Linked DNA regions of Homo sapiens: region 1 is linked to region 2. Evidence: promoter capture Hi-C in human tissues and cell types (Jung and others, 2019). All regions are on one chromosome and are shown on one strand. The core of a region is centred on a gene start or on the middle of the fragment in contact, and the rest is flanking DNA. Distances in the headings are between cores, read along the strand shown.

Evidence for each region. Contacts are between HindIII fragments. The study calls those that stand out against the background at their distance.
Region 1: a contact is called between a fragment that was not itself captured here and the fragment with the promoter of TLCD1 in region 2, in 1 of the 25 tissues and cell types used here (mesenchymal stem cells).

Annotation. Positions count from the first base shown.
Region 1 is chr17:29,066,118-29,071,092 of GRCh38, reverse strand. No RefSeq gene overlaps it. Among named protein-coding and RNA genes, the nearest start is that of PIPOX, 25 kb to the right of the region's middle. The HindIII fragment of the contact is 5,950 bases long and covers 1-4,975 here.
Region 2 is chr17:28,724,676-28,730,018 of GRCh38, reverse strand. It overlaps TLCD1 (TLC domain containing 1), which reads left to right and starts at 3,786. Exons shown (of 4, transcript NM_138463.4): 1 at 3,786-4,115; 2 at 4,456-4,538; 3 at 4,633-4,715; 4 at 5,126-5,343. The coding sequence starts at 3,922. NEK8 (NIMA related kinase 8) reads right to left here and starts at 1,231. Exons shown (of 15, transcript NM_178170.3): 1 at 1,159-1,231. The coding sequence starts at 1,205. RefSeq lists enhancers at 2,803-3,526, 3,527-4,250, 4,418-4,467, 4,588-4,887, 4,251-4,974 and 3 more and a silencer at 3,478-4,007. The HindIII fragment of the contact is 6,466 bases long and covers 1,269-5,343 here.

The sequences.
Region 1 (4,975 bases), core at 915-3,414, 340 kb before region 2:
GCAGATTATCCCAGTTGTCCTTGCCCCATCCTCCACCCACTTGCCTGGTGGCAAAGACACTTAGCGATTTGCTCCTTAATTGTCCCCCAGCTAGGCTGCGCAGATGCCGCTCTTTAATCTCTCCTGATAAATGAATCGCGCCGCTCCTTTAATCATATGTTCATATCCAAGCCAATTTGAATCAATTTGGCAGGGAGCGTGTTGCAAGAGATGCCATGACTGCTGTTTCTTCCCCAGGGCCCTGGAGCCAGAGCGGCTGCTGTCCTTACCCTCAGCAAAGAGCCCAGGAGGCCCATCCAGGGAAAGGATCGCCTACCTGAATAGTGGGGACTTTTCAAAGTCTTCTAATTCATTCCTGACCTCCAAGCTGGCCGTGTGGGACTGGAGGGAAATGGATTCCCAAAGGCCTCGGAAGTGGGAGGGGGATGAGTCCCTAGCCTGCCTTGGTCACTGAATGAAGGGCCCCATTATCATCCCTGGGAGAAAGTACTGCCTTAAATCTAACCCTAATCCCTTCTGTTCCCCGTTCATTTCCACTGCACCGGTTCTCTGGGAAGCTGGAACACTTCGTCACCTTTTATATAGCAACACATTCCAGACAAGTCTATGATAATTTGTCCTTGCCTGCTTCTACTGGCGGCCACCCTGACTCCTTCCATCTTCTCCTAGGACATATTTTCTAAAACCTCCAGCCTGGTGGGCAGTCCGACACGTTCGGTAATGTACCAAGCTCTGCCGCCTTTCAGGCTGCTGCCTTTTCACCTCCAGAGTGGTGCCCCCGTGCAGTAATGAAAACAAAGCAAAAATAGACAAAACCTGCCAAACTGAGTTCTTCTGCGTCTAGCACTGCGACCTTGGAGAAGGGGCTTAACCTGTCAGGCCTCAGTTTCCCCATCTGTGAAACAAGGTAGTATTGCTGGCAAGAACCTTCTGGCTTCTAAATTCAGAGCTCCTTACCACAGCCAAAAGAATCTCCCACGCCCTCCCCCTTCATCCCCCCTAGTGAGGGACTGACAGTTGATGCCCAGTGGGGCTTCGAGATCCGGGTGCTGTGGAAGAAACGTTGTGCATGGTCTGTCGGGAGTTAGTTTCCATTCAGACACTCGGTTGAACCTCGAGGTCCTCTCATTTCCTCTTCTTCCCTAGCCCGCTCTGCCAGTCCAGGCTTGTGCCCTACCATTCACTGGGAAACCGAGAGCTCGTTAGCATATTCATATATATATTTGCATATCCACTTTTCATTGGCGCACGTGGCCCTCTGGTCCCGCCCCTGCCTGGAGGTTCTTTACGCACTTCCCAGAAGCCACTCCCCTTAAAAGAAATGGGTTTTCAAGCCGCCGATGGGCAGCCCATCTGTGTTGCCCTTTTAATGATTACAGCGGCATTAGGACAGGTCTACTCTCCGAGCAACCCGGAAATAATGTTTCCCGCCCTTTTAAGGGCCCTTGGAACTCTGGCCTGAGCTGAGGCCCAGAGTCAGTGACTGGGACTGACAGGCCCCTTCCTACCCTGTCAGTAGTGAGAGGAGGGTAATAAGAGCAATAATTGGCCGGGTGCGGTGGCTTACGCCTGTAATCCCAGTACTTTTGGGAGGCCGAGGAGGGTGGATCACCTGAGGTCAGGAGTTCAAGACCAGCCTGGCCAACATGGTGAAACCCCATCTCAACTAAAAACAATACAAAAATTAGCCGTGCGTGGTGGCAGGCACCTGTAATCCCAGCTACTTGGGGGGCTGAGGCAGGAGAATCGCTTGAACCCGGGAGGCAGAGGTTGCAGTGAGCCAAGATCGTGTCATTGCACTCTGGCCTAGGGGACAAGAGAGAGACTTCATCTCAAAAAAAAAAAAAAAGGACCAACAACAGTTCCCATTTGTTGAGCACTTACTATGATGACCCCAGCGCTTAAGCACTTTGCCCTACAAAATCTCATTTCACCTCCATCACAACTCTGTGAAGACGTCATCCTGGAAAGAAAACTGAGGCTGAGGGGTGATGTCATCTTTCTAAGCAGAGTCCTCAACTTGCTTCCAGCAGCTGGCCAGGCGTCTCCTAACTATTCTGGCCTTGGCAGAGGATGCAGTGAGAGGCAAGAAAGCAAAGAATCACTACCATGGTCCTCATCTCAAATCGCGTGTGCCTGGCATTCGCCAAGTCCTGGCCTCAGAAAGGAAACGCTTCTTGGCAATTTGGGGGGAAAATATCTACTTCACATTTGCGTCGCGCTTCACAATTTTCAGAGCATCCCCCATATATTATCACATTTTCACTTCACTCCCACTGTGCCAGCAATATGAATAACAGTTCCACATCGCTCAGAATGCATATTTTAAGCTATATTCACTTCAGTCTAATTTCATTACAGTACAACAACAATCCAGACCATTCCCTGCTATTTGATCTGGGAGGAAAGATTTCCAGAGCAGTAGCCATTTTGGAGTTAACAAGGATACTGGATGTGTTTAGAAGGAATTGTACAGAGAAATTGAGTCTTCTGTAGCGTGAGCCCCAGAGATGGGTCATAAACATAAGGGAGATTCCAAAAAGAGTGTGTGCTTTGCGACTGAAGTCAGTCACATAAATCCCCCAGTGGAATACTTATATGTGCAGATAGAATTTGCTGTAGATATCAAAAGTCAGCTATGACAGTTTTAGAAGAAAAGAAAATTCAAAAAGGATATTACGTTTTGACACTATCCAGCCAAATTATATTTGAAGTGGCTTAAGAGTCAAAGAGTTTCCACATTTTAAGAAATTTTTATATGTTTTGTGCCACATCTATGATCTGACTAGATTAGGAAAAGCAGCAAATGGATTTGGGAAAGAGAGGACACTAGGGAATTTGAAAATGGAAATTTAAAAAAAAAAGGAGTTAAGGCTGAGGTGGGTGGATCACCTGGAGTCAGGAGTTCGAGACCAGCCTGGCCAAGATGGTGAAACCCCCTCTCTACTAAAAATACAAAAATTAGGCCGGGCACGGTGGCTCACGCCTGTAATCCCAGCACTTTGGGAGGCTGAGGCGGGTGGATCACGAGGTCAGGAGATCAAGACCATCCTGGCTAACACGATGAAACCCCATCTCTACTAAAAAAATACAAAAAATTAGCCGGGCATGGTGGCGGGTGCCTGTAGTCCCAGCTACTCGGGAGGCTGAGGCAGGAGAATGGCATGAACCCAGGAGGCGGAGCTTGCAGTGAGCAGAGATCCGAGCCACTGCACTCCAGCCTGGGCGACAGAGCAAGACTCCGTCTCAAAAAAAAAAAAAAAAATTAGCTGGGCGTGTTGGCGGGAACATGTAATCCCAGCTACTCGGGAGGCTGAGGCAGGAGAATCCCTTGAAGGTGGAGTTTGCAGTGAGACGAGATCATGCCATTGCACTCCAGCCTGGGCGACGGGTGAGACTCTGTCTCAAAAAGAAAAAAAGGAGTTTAAAAAAATCTCTGCATGGGGAAGATATAGCCAATAGCTTCGGAAACATTAGCACTTTGAAAGACCGGTGAGTGACAGGCAGCCAGGCAAATATAAAATTGTATGTGATGAAAGAGGTCTCATGGCTCATCTTAACCCTGGGGCCTGGCATCAACTGCAGGTTGGCACCCTTGCTTGAGGACTGCTGGGGGACTACTGTCCAAGGAAGAGTGACCCTAGTGAGTGCACTCCCTGGAAGGTTCTGCCCTGGAAGCACAGGTCTCATGGCCTGCCTTTGTGGGTTCCGGAGAACATCTGTGGGAGCTACTGTTTCTGGTGGAAACATACTCAGCCACTGGGCAGGTTTTAATAGTAGAAAGGAGCTTCTGCTCCCAGGAACCGACAAAATAAGCCTAGAGAACCAACTAGAAAGTGAGGCAGTCTTACAGCTCTGTTAATGGGTTCCTAAGGTTACATATAGACATGACAAAAGTAGAAGGGAAAACACAGATCAATAAATAAATATTAGAAGGGACCTCTGAAAACTATAAGTAGTTTTACCTGGGGATGTGGGGTTATAGATGAAGTGGCTGTGCTTTCAATACCAAGTTTTCATACAATTTTTAAAAGTCAGTACAGATGTGTGTAGCAACACCAAAGAAGGCCCCAAATTGTCATATTAGCATGATTATAAGAATCACTTCTTTCCCAACATTTCATATACAGAAATCATAGCAGGCGGGTGGGCGGGAGGGGGTAAACCGTGTGGCAAAGCTGCTTAGAAACTGCTTAGATCCCTTGCTCAGGGAAAGCCATTCTTAAAGCAGCAGGCTTCTCTCGGCATGGCTGAGAGGGAAGCTGGAAGAGGAACAGATTGGAGGGTGGAACATGAACAGGGTATTTAGGGGAGGCGAGCAGCGCAGATGAGACAAGAGCATCTAGATCAAGCCCTCCCATGCAGCTGAGAGCCCTGCAGGTGATCGGTTTAGGTGAGGCTGTTTTTGTTAAAGGGACTGGCAGTGGGGTTGGGATGAGGAGGAGCCAAGAGTTGAGAAGGTCATTTAGGACATTTGTGTCATAGTGATATACTTTTTTTTTTTTTTTTTTTTTAAGATCTGCAAGGTGGGGACATGGCTCAGTGGCCAGACTTTGTGCCTGGCTGGTAGATTTGTGCTTCTAATACATGGTTCCATCTAAGAAGGTGTAGCCCCTTAGGGAAGTATTGTTGCTGACTTGAGTGACCAGTGAGTTTCTCTGAGAAATTGGAAAATGTGGGATCCCTAGTAAAAGGGAAGCCCAGGGGTTGAGGCATCCTGGCAGGTCTGGGAGGAGCAAGTCCCCTGGGGTGTGGGTGTGATCTCCCTCTCCCTCCCCACCCCTACTCCTTGCTCCCCAGCAGAAATCAGCTACAAATCTCAGCTTGTTGGGAACAGATGGCCTTGGCTGACGAATAAACCACCGCAGGCTGCTCCACCTGTTCTCGGGCTGGAATAATCAGCTCGAGACAAACATCAGCGCTGAAATAACTCATGGCAGCGGGTGATGCGCAGGCACTGATTCCAAAAATCTCT
Region 2 (5,343 bases), core at 2,537-5,036:
TCTACCTTGCCCACTACATTCCAACTATTACTAGTCTTTCTCGGTTTCTTGAATGCTCTGTTTTCCCATGTGAGACATTTCACATACGCTATTTCCTTTGCCTGAAAAGTTCTCCCTTCACCTGCAGACTACTGGTCCTCATTCCTCAAGTCTTGGCCTTAAATCTCACTTCTGGCCTGTCGCGGTGGCTCACGCCTGTAATTCCAGCACTTAGGGAGGCCGGCGCGGGCGGATCACCTGAGGTCAGGAATTTGAGACCAGCCTGGCCAACATGGCGAAACCCCATCTGTACTAAAAACACAAAAAATATTAGCTGGGCATGGTGGCGCGTGCCTGTAGTCCCAGCTACTCGGGAGGCTGAGGCAGGAGAAGCGCTTGAACCAGGGAGGCAGAGGTTGCAGTGAGCTGAGATAGTGCCACTGCACTCGAGATCGCGCCACTGCGACAGAGTGAGACTGCCTCAAAAAAAAAAAAAAAAAAAAAAAATCCAAAAAATTTAGCCGGGCATGGTGGCGCACGCCTGTAATCCTAGCTACTCGGGAGGCTGAGGCACAACGATTGCTTGAACCCAGGAGGTGGTGGTTGCAGTGTGCCAAGATCGTGCCACTGAACTCCAGCCGGGGTGACAGAGGGAGACTCTGTCTTAAAAATCAATCAAGCAAGCAAGCAATCTCCCTTCTCAGAGAATTCTTCCTTGACCATCTCATATAAGTATTCTCACTGGTAATGTACTCTATCCTCACAACCTGCTAATAACACTTCATAACTGCTATAACTTCTTACTTCATAATGTTTTGTTTATTGTATAACTTTCCCACAGTCAGTAAGTTCCAAGAGGGAAAAGACCACGCCCGTTCCGGTTCTAACTATATACCCAGCGGCCAAAGCCTGACATACATAGCTGGCACTCAGTATTTGTTGAACGAATGAATAAAGAAGCTAACATAACTCAGTGGGCGGAGCAATGGGCCTGTCAGGGGCGTGGCCTCCGTAGAGGCGGAGTCTCCCCGGGGGACTGGGACCGGAAGCTTGGGCGGGGCTTCCCAGAGTGGCGCTCACGCCTTGGGGCGGGATTAGGCGGGCGGCGACTTCGCGGGCGGAATTGGGGCTTATTTTCCCTATCCCCTAGCAGTTTCCTCCCCCAGAGCCCTGGCTCACCCGAAGGCACCTCTCCCCACCACTCGGATCCGCTCGTACTTCTCCATCTCATTTCTTAGAGTTTCACTTCCGTCCCCCACGCGGCGCGTGCGCGGACCCACCCACTCTGGGCCCCGCCCCTTCACGGCGAGCGGCTTGCGGGGCGGAGCCAGCGCCCTAGGTGTGGGTTCCGCCACGCGTCCGTATTTGTGGGCCTGCACCACACACCTCCCGCTGCGACACGCCGTCACTTTTCCCCTCACGACCCTGCCCCACGCAGTGTCCAAGAATAGGGCAAGAAAATAGGGCGCGCCCGCAATGGCGGGCACGGTACCCGCCCCTCCCACACATATACCCAGCCCTTGTAAAGCTTGCTAGACTAAAAGGATGTCGCGTTCCCGAGAGTTAAACCCCACAGGCCGGGAAGGGGTGGGAAGAGAAGATTGACCCCCTTCTTGCCCACGAGTGACGCTATTTCAGGAGAAAGCGGGTTCTCCTTGGCACGCAAACGATAAACACACCCAAAACGACCGAGACCAGCGCTCCTGGGAGAAGGCAGCAGGGTTGGTTTCGTGTTTGCCTGGGGAGGGACGGGGGAAATCCCAAGTCGTGCAAGTTGATTCACCTGAAGAGGACATGACACGGTCTCGGGCCGTCCCGACTAGTGAGCGCCGCGCTCGTCAGCACTCTCAACTCCCCTTTCACACACGCGCTGCAGGAGGGTAATCTGCCCTCAGTGCTCATCTTCCCATGGGGGAAGATGGGGGCGGTAGTGGGTCAGTACCTGAAAGCATCAAGGGGAGAAGGAAAGACCGCGGTTTCGCCGAAATGAGCTCAAGGCAAAAGCCTAGAGGCAGGGGGCTGGTTAGTGTGACCAGCTAGGCTCTTTACCGGAAGTGAGGTTAATTCCAGGTTCTCCCGGGCTCCTGCTCTGCGGGAGCTCTAGAAAAACTCAGTATTCGGCCAGGCGCGGTGGCTCACGCCTGTAATTCCAGCACTTTGGGGAGGCCGAGGCGGGCGGATCACCTGAGGTCAGGAGTTTGAGACCAACCTGGCCAACATGGTAAAACCTCGTCTCTACTAAAAATACAAAAATTAGTTGGGCACGGTGGCGCGCGCTTGTAATCCCAGCTACTCGGGAGGCTGAGGCAGGAGAATCGCTTGAATCTGGGAGGCGGAGGTTGCAGTGAGCCGAGATCGTGCCATTGCACTCCAGCCTGGGCGATAGAGTGAGCCTCCATCTCAAAAAAAAAAAAAGAAAGAAAGAAAACATCAGTATTCAGGAGGAGGATGGTCACTAGCTGAAGGTTAGCGTCCCTGTATCAGAGTGGGCAAGGGGTGTGAGGAAAGGGGCGTTTTATCTTCTGCCCCTGTCCTGGCTCTCGCAAGGGTATCCAAACCCACCCACGTGGAATGACTGCTGGAAGGGCGCTGGCTCAGGCCGGTGTCGGCCGGCGGACAGAGCAGCTCTGTGAGCCAAGGGGAGGGGCGGGAAAGCCGCTCACCCAGGACACCCGTGTTCTCACCTAGAAACCGACTGGGCTTTGGTTGACTTAAGAGTCCCACAGGGGTTAATGTGTAACCTTGGAGCCATAGGGGAGGAAAACACTCAAACGGCTTGGTCCCTGGGTCCTTGCGCCTCAGGTTTTCTCGGCTTCTTCCTCCCGCCCGCAGCACCTTTCCCCTCCCCCGCTTCTTCCCGCCCCTCCTCTATTACTACCCTCTTCTCCCTCCCCGCTCTCATCTCCGCTTAACTTCCCTCGCTGGCTCTCAGCTGCTCCTCCTTTCGCCCAGAGTTTATACCTAAACTCTCCCCGAAAGCAGCTGCCTCGCTCGGAGGCGGGAGGGGGAGCCCGCGCCACAGTGAGGGCAGGCTGACACCTAGTGGCTAGGAGCCGCAACTGCTGCAAGCTACCGGCTTGGAGAGCGCGGGTCACTCCAGCTGTCCCGGCAAATCGGAGGTCTTGCTTGCCCAGCCTCCGGGGAGCCGGGCCGAGGGCCGGGACTGTCTGAGGGAGGACTGTGACAGCCGCCCGGCCCCAGGAGTTTAAGAGCCGGCGGGAAGAGGTGGCGATGGGTTACTCAGCAGTTCCCAAGTGCCCACCTCGCGGGCGCGGGAGGGACAGGTAAACACGGGACTCCGGCCAGAAGACTGCGAGTGGTGCGGTAGGGGCACTGGGTCTGCACGGAGACCACTGTCGGACGCGGGGCTCCGGAGCCCACCCCAGGACCAGGACTTAGGGGGCGTGGGCGTGTCGGGTCCCGTCCAGCTCTGCGCAGAAAGTAGAGGGCGGAGAGAGCTCTCGCGGTACCCGCCCAGGGCGGGGTAGCCGGTGGCCCGGGGAAAAGTGGGGACGCGGGTTAATGAGGCCAGGCGAGCGAGGGCAGCGGGGACTCCGTCGGCAGTCGGGAGGCGCCAGCGAGGGGTGTCTCGGCGACGACGCCCCCAGCACAGCTCCTAGTTACCCGAAGTCCGCGGGAGCCGGCCGGTGGCCGAGAGGCCACGGGGACACCCGGCTCGCGCGGCAGCAGCGCCTGAGGGGCGGGGGCAGGCGGACGGGGCGGGGGCAGGCGGGCGGGGCGGGGGCGCGGGCGGCTGGGGGCGGGGGCAGAGGCCTCGCAGGGAGGGCGAGGAGGAGCCAAGGGGCCTAGAGGGCTTCGCCAACTGTGTGGGGCTGGCGGCCGGCGGGAGAGGCGGCCGGCCTGGACTGGCCCGAGAGGGATCCCGGTTCCCAGAACAGACCTAGGAGGCGGCCTCGAGGGCGGACGGCAGGGAGGGCCAGCATGCCCCGACTGCTGCACCCCGCCCTGCCGCTGCTCCTGGGCGCCACGCTGACCTTCCGGGCGCTCCGGCGCGCGCTCTGTCGCCTGCCCCTACCCGTGCACGTGCGCGCCGACCCCCTGCGCACCTGGCGCTGGCACAACCTGCTCGTCTCCTTCGCTCACTCCATTGTGTCGGGGATCTGGGCACTGCTGTGGTGAGTGAGCGACTGTGGAAATGAGGTGGCCAGGGGATCCTGAGCGGGGAGCCGGGGCCGGCTCTTGTGTTACTACCCCCATCGCTCACTGGCGGGCTGAGGCCACGCAGTCTCACCTGATCCCGTTTGGTATCCTATCCAACCAAAAGCCGCAGTGGCCCCAGGGGAGGGGGATCGCCCCTGGGAAACTGGAGGCTCTTGGGTTTTGCCCAGCCACTCTTAGCTTCCCAGTCAGCCACTAGCGCGAGCCCAGGATCCCCCGGGGCTGCGAAGGGTAACCGAGAAGTTGATGGTCCTTGAGGGTGCCGAAATGCAGAGCCTCCTCTTCCCTCCTTTCCAGTGTATGGCAGACTCCTGACATGTTAGTGGAGATTGAGACGGCGTGGTCACTTTCTGGCTATTTGCTCGTTTGCTTCTCTGCGGGTAGGTCTTGCCCAGGAAGCGGGAGGCAAATTGGGGACAGGGAGAAGGAAGCTGCTTGTTCAGTTCATGATCTCTTGCCCCATCCCTCCACTAGGGTATTTCATCCACGATACGGTGGACATCGTGGCTAGCGGACAGACGCGAGCCTCTTGGGAATACCTTGTCCATCACGTCATGGTAAGAGAGAAGCAGACTATGTGGTATAGGCCTGGTGTCAGTAATCTAGTCTCAGCTCCGTCTTTCTGAATCTGGGAGAAGGCCGTGTTTTCTTACCACCCACCCCCGACCTGTGTGCTACTTCTTATGCTAGGATGCTGGAGGTTGGCAGTCTGTACTTGTTCACTGAGGCCAGCAACCCATGGTTTCACTGCCTCTTTAGACTGAACATCACCCACAGCCAGCTGTGAGCAGCAATCAAAATCTAGTAATGTTGAACTAACAAAACAAAGCATCTTACCCACTATAAACTATTATTCCAGGGGGAAATTTGGGATTTTCCAGCCCTCAATCTGATAGCCACACCCCCCAAACTTCCAGGAAAGCGTCTGCATCTGGGTTCCCTAACTCCTATTCTTTCTTCCCTCTAGGCCATGGGTGCCTTCTTCTCCGGCATCTTTTGGAGCAGCTTTGTCGGTGGGGGTGTCTTAACACTACTGGTGGAAGTCAGCAACATCTTCCTCACCATTCGCATGATGATGAAAATCAGTAATGCCCAGGATCATCTCCTCTACCGGGTTAACAAGTATGTGAACCTGGTCATGTACTTTCTCTTCCGCCTGGCCCCTCAGGCCTACCTCACCCATTT